2 separate regions of the Homo sapiens genome follow, and region 1 is linked to region 2. The links are contacts of gene promoters, found by promoter capture Hi-C in human tissues and cell types (Jung and others, 2019). All regions are on one chromosome and are shown on one strand. Each heading gives the region's core, a stretch centred on a gene start or on the middle of the fragment in contact. The rest is flanking DNA. Distances are from core to core; before and after follow the strand shown. Region 1 overlaps HTR1E (5-hydroxytryptamine receptor 1E). Region 2 holds the start of HTR1E (5-hydroxytryptamine receptor 1E).

Region 1 (2,741 bases), core at 228-2,727, 53 kb before region 2:
AAACCTTTGGAATTGAAAGTAGAGGATGGCCTGAGTGGGAAAAGGAAGTAATTTAGAAGGCAGGGTGGCAGAAAGGTGATGCAAGTGATTGGCAAAATGGTTTCACCACTTTTGAGATGATAATATGAAAGTCAGATGTAATATCCTGCACAATTTACAAGGAAAATTTAGAGAAATGTCTCCAATTTGAAGAGTTTGTATAAAACATATGTTTGCAACTGGAGTCTATTCTACTATTAAACATAATCATTATTGGACAGCCGCTACACATTTGTGTTTCTGTGAAATCTGGTTTACTTGTTGGTTTGAGCTTTTACCTTCCTTAACTCTTTGTTTAGAACATATTCTGCTTCTGAGACCACTACACAAATAAGACTTAGTTTGTTCTTCACTGAACAAACATCACTTTTCCTTTTATTCTACAGCTTGTTGTCACCACTCCACCCCTGGCTGCTGAAAGTATTTAGTTTTCTCAAGTCTTCTGTCTTCCTTGGATTTGGCAATGCATTCACTATAAAACTCTACCATGCTCCAGGGAAGAGCATGCAATAAGATACATTTGCACCATCTATTTTAAGAAATAAACTTTTTATTTTGGTAGAAATTTATATTTATAGAAGAGCTGTAAAGAAAGTACAGAGAGTTCATATATACCCCTCATTCAGTTTTACCCATTGTTAACTTCTTGTATTACCATGGTACATTTTTCAAAATTAAGAAAAAGACATTGGCTCGTTACTATTAACTAAACTTCAGATTTTATTTGGATTTAATAGTTTTTGCATTAATGTCTTCTTTCTGTTCCAATTCAGGACACCACATTGTATTTAATTTTTCTTATCTCCCCAGTCTCTTCTGGTCTGTGACTTTCTAATCTTTGCTTGTTTCTCATGACTGACTGTCTTAAGGAATACTGGCCAGGTATTCTGTAGAAAAAAATGTCCCCCTGATCTCAGTTTATCTGATGTTTTCCCTCATGTTTAGACTGGGGTTATAAGTTTTGGTGAAGAGTATCTCAGAAGTCAAGCCCTTCTCATTAGATCATATTAGAGAACATGATATTCACTTGACATTACTGGTGGTGTTAACTGTCATCATTTGGTTAAGGTAGCATTTGCCATGATTCTCCACTATAAAGTTACTATTTTTCCCTTTCCCTGCTCTATTTTTTAAGAAGTGAATCACTAAGTCTAGTCTACCTCCAAAACTGAGGAATTAAGCTCTGCCTTTTGGAGAGGGAGAATATGAACATACATTATATGGAATTCTGAAAGGAAGATTTATCTCTTCTCCCCTACTTTATTTGTTCAGTCATTTATTTATATTGATATTTACTGTGCATATATTTATGATTCAGTCCCAAGGGGGCAGTAGCCTTTAGTTCTGGGGAAATTATTTTATAAATACACTATTGATGCCTATTTATGTTTATTTATATAAGTATGAACTCATGGCTATTTATTTTATTCTTTGGGTTATAATCCAATACTAGGTTATTTATTTTATTGCTCAAGTTGTTCCAGTTTTGGTCACTGGGAACTCTTTCAGTTAGTTCCTGCTGAACCATTTCTTTTATTAGACTGTTTTCGTTTGTCCTGTATAGACTGGCAACAACACCTCTTTGAAAGGTGATGGGGAAAAATGATCTGTCTTGTGAAATACAGATAAGGTTTTAGTCAATACAGAGTCTCCATTGAAGGCAAATACATCATTTTTATATGAAGGACACCTGTAGGGTGTTATTTACTTTTCAGCTGAGAATAATAAAAATGAACTTTATGAAATGCCTATCATTTAAGCTAGCTGGTGCTTGAGGTTGTATTAGCATATTTTAAAAAAATGAAATGACTTTCTTTTGACCCAGCTTAATAACACCACTGAAGTAGGAAACTCCTCAGAGAAGAACTGGGCTCCCTCCTGTGCTGTGCACACATTTGCCTTTTGAATCTTTTGTAGTGCAACATGCTTTTGTGGCAGACCCAAGGGAATACACATGGAAGCTGCCTGCAGGGCTGAGGTTTCCTACTAGGCTTCCACTTAGTGCCATCTATCTAAGCTTCCACCTAGTGCATTGCTATCTCAGACCACTTGATACTGTTCCAGCCACCTCAAAGGGCATGTTCAAGAAGGAGATTTGTAGGTATCTTTTTTTTTTGGCTCAACTTACTGTAGGTTGAAAAGCAAGAGATAGTATGTTGTATAAAAATGGAGGAGTGAAGAACAGAATCCTCCTGCAAATGTGTCTTAGATACATTAATGATTGGTTGTGTGACTCTGAAAAAGACACTCCTTGCTTCAGGTCTCTGTTTCCCTATCTGTAAAATTAGCACCTCATTATTTCTGACCATCTTTTGGGGCTAACATCCTATGGTTTTTATGCTACAGTCAGTGTTATGGTAATTGTTATTACAGTTTGTAACTTCCAGAAATTAATGGCAAATAGGTTAGGAAGGAACTGGTTAGAAACTACTGCTTTTTCAACAAGGACCAATAATGTATCCTCAGGTGACAATGTTGTCTATTATTTTCCCCTGGATATTTAATTGAATTTTACAAAGTCACAGGAATCCTCCAATACCAGTTATTTGATTCCTAAGGCACTCTTTTCTTCCAACAACCACCTATGTCTGCAAAGTATAAATAGCTCATCATTTTTTTTATCATGATTTTGTGATAGCTTCTTAAGTTGGTGCAGAAAACATCTTCCAAGACCACTTCTCATCAGGGCATAAGGCACTGCA
Region 2 (2,981 bases), core at 170-2,669:
ACAAGTGCATCCTGGCTGTTTAAGGTTATGCATATTGTGTCTGAATGTACAACTATGATAAATATATATTCTGGAGCAATGTTAAATTCAGCTTAGGACGATGTACTGCTTAGAGCTTTGAGGGAAAACATAAGAATGATAAAATGAGCCTAAATTATTTTGGAAAAAACACTGCTCCCCCAACCCATTTGACGATCTATTATTTCCTCCTGGGCTGCTCCCTCCCCAAGAGATTTGGTGCAGGAGGCAAGGAAGGACAATAAGAAAGGTTAGGAAGAAACACCTTGGGATGCTGACACCATCTGCCTTATCCTTCTAACTCAAGGACAAGCAGCGTTGGGTTGAATACAAGGTCCTTTCTTCCAAAACTGGGCACAGGCAGAAATATACATATAGATGCAAAACCACTATGATCCTGTGATAGGAGCTGGAATCACTTCCCTTTAGACTCAATTTCCTTTCCTTTTCGTTAGGTAGGGGGTCAGCCTCTCACCTTGCAGTATTGGGTGGAGATGGCTTAAGACCAAACTTCTCATCTTAACTCTTACTTCCAAGATTTATTTTGTATTTTAAAAAAAATGAGCCTGCCTCATTACCTCCACACCTGGGCATTTTGTTTATCAGGACTGAGCACAGTATTATTTTCTGAGGGCTGGAGCAACAGTGCAGTCCTTTCTAATCAAAGGTTTTTTAATCAGCTGGCTTTGAAATCACACAGTTCTTCCGGGGTCCCTGGAGCACACCACCTCCCTGTGATTTCTACTCAAGTTTTCCCTGGCCCCCCCCAGCACCCGTTCCATACCTATTTAATCTTTAAGCTGCCTCTAATCCTTTTGCAAGGAAGCAGGATGAAATGCTCAAACCACAGTTATACACAATGTTGATTCTCAGGTTCACACATTTGAGGAATTGTTTGAACAAGAAATGCTCTCTGTACTATAATCCAGGGTGCAGGCACGGTGCCCGGGCGACCCTCAGTCTCCCTCCGACACCCCGCATCCCAACTCCCGCCGCCTTTGCGCCTCAAAGCTGGCAAACATCCCCAAGCCAGAGCTGGAGTACCTGGAGTGGGTGGGGGTAAGAAGGGAAGCCAAGGTCGTCCCGGAAGGTGTGCGCCCCTCACCTTGTGGACGGTGCGTGCAGCCGCGCCGCACTGGGCAAACCGGCACGTCCAGCTGGCTCCAGAAGTCTCACTCGGAACCCGCTCCTTTTTCTCCTGAGCTGGATCAGAGCACTGCTTCTCTCAACATTCGATTCTGGAGTACGTTGAGCCCAGGGCGTTCTCCCCGCCAGCGTCCTTGCCCGCGCCAGTGCCCGCCGGGGTGCGGCGAGACAGAACCTGGGAGCGCGGCGCGCCGGGCAGCCCGAGGCACCGCTGGTGGCAGGCGCTGCGCTTCGCCGAGTCTGGGCGCCTGGACTGGAAGAGGAGGCGAGAGGGAGAGAGCGGGGAAGAGGAGGAGGAGGAGCAGGAGCAGGAGCATGGGCAGGGGCAGTCTGCTAAATCATCTACGCAGGTCGCAGCCTCCCGGGACACCGTGAACGGAGAGGGGGGTGGTGGGTGTGGGATGAAAAGATGAGCCCGGGTGTGAGGCAGGTGGTATTGTGAACTGGAGGTCGCAGCTCCGAGGTACTCCAGGTCTTGCTTAGGTTATAAAAGAGAAATTCTGGAGCTGATGGCGCCTTAGGGCTCCCGGTTGCAGACACTAGAGGGCAGGGCTGTCCATGTTATAAACCGGGCCAGCGGGGTTGGAGGTGTGGGCAAGGGACTCACCTCCTGAGCCCCTTGCCGGCCACAGCCCTGGCGGAGAAGGGGAAAATAGATACAACAAGGGGGCAGACCCTACTCCCTTCTTCTGTAGCGAGCCTGGGTTGAGGAGGGAGAGGAACGGCGGGAGCAGTTGACGGGTTTGCACGCTTTCTCTACGCGGTTCCAATGGCAAACAGACCCTCTGGAGGTGCATTTCTTAGCCCTCCTCCAGGGGAGATTACAGTCAACATCCACAGGATGCCTCAAGGAGAGAGATTACAAGGAAGGGGTGAGGGAGAAGTGGACGAAAATTGGGGTGGGTCAAAGTGGAAGGGGGGAAGAGAGGTGGGGAAAGCAGTGAAGAAAAGGAGACGGAGAGTGGAGTGGTTGGGGCTGAAAGACCTGCTGAAGCAGCCTTGCCATTTTTTTTTTTTTTGAGGGAAGTCTACCTGGGCGCCATCTCAGGTTGTCAGAGGGCTTTGTGCTCTTCTGAGGGTGCCAGGGGCTGTTCTTTTTGTTGTTCTGCTGCCGCAAGGTCAGAAAAGTTAAGCTGGGAGGGACTTTGCAGAATCCTGGCATTGCTAAAAGAAGCTTCCTTACGGCTGGTTGGTTATTCTCTGTGGAGAACTTGGGTGACTCAACATTGAAGCCTAACATGGATTGAGCCCCTGCCATTGTAAAAAAGAAAATCAGATTGTTCAAACTAGCCATAAAATGAACTAGACAATCTTATGGAGACAGTATGATCTGTAGACAGCCTGATACACAAACCTTAGAGTTGAAAGGACCTTGGAAACCATGTAGGCAACTTGGGTAGCTGCCCCAAACACCTGCCTCACACTTTTCTTTCTGGTTTGTAGCCTTATGGCTGATTTGAAAAACACTTTAAGTTATTTATTTATTTTTTGAAGTTTGACAATTCTAAACCAAATGAAACCCTTCTTCAGTTCAAAAAGCGAGCCTGTGTGCCCTTCTCCTGCCTTCTAGAGCGCCTCTCAAGGCCAGCAGGGGTTGACTGATGGATTATCAGGGGAATTTCACTGAACAAGAGAAAGGAAGGTTGGTAAACTATAGTCTTAAATTGTGATTTGCTTCTGTTAATCCCATTAAACTGAGAATAGGCTTAAGTAGACTGAAGTCTAACAGGAGGATGAGGTGGAAATATGTTTTCCTACTAAAGATGACACATCTTGAAGTTTGTTTGATGATAAAGGTGTTATGTAAAAATAAGCAG

The links. Contacts are between HindIII fragments. The study calls those that stand out against the background at their distance.
Region 1: a fragment that was not itself captured here is called in contact with the fragment with the promoter of HTR1E in region 2 in 1 of the 25 tissues and cell types used here (H1 embryonic stem cells).

What each region holds. Positions count from the first base shown.
Region 1 is chr6:86,989,317-86,992,057 of GRCh38, reverse strand. The region is part of intron 1 of HTR1E (5-hydroxytryptamine receptor 1E); the gene reads right to left. Among named protein-coding and RNA genes, the nearest start is that of HTR1E, 53 kb to the right of the region's middle. The HindIII fragment of the contact is 3,885 bases long and covers 1-2,741 here.
Region 2 is chr6:86,935,966-86,938,946 of GRCh38, reverse strand. It overlaps HTR1E (5-hydroxytryptamine receptor 1E), which reads right to left and starts at 1,419. Exons shown (of 2, transcript NM_000865.3): 1 at 1,124-1,419. RefSeq lists enhancers at 525-1,079, 1,080-1,635. The HindIII fragment of the contact is 9,684 bases long and covers 1-2,981 here.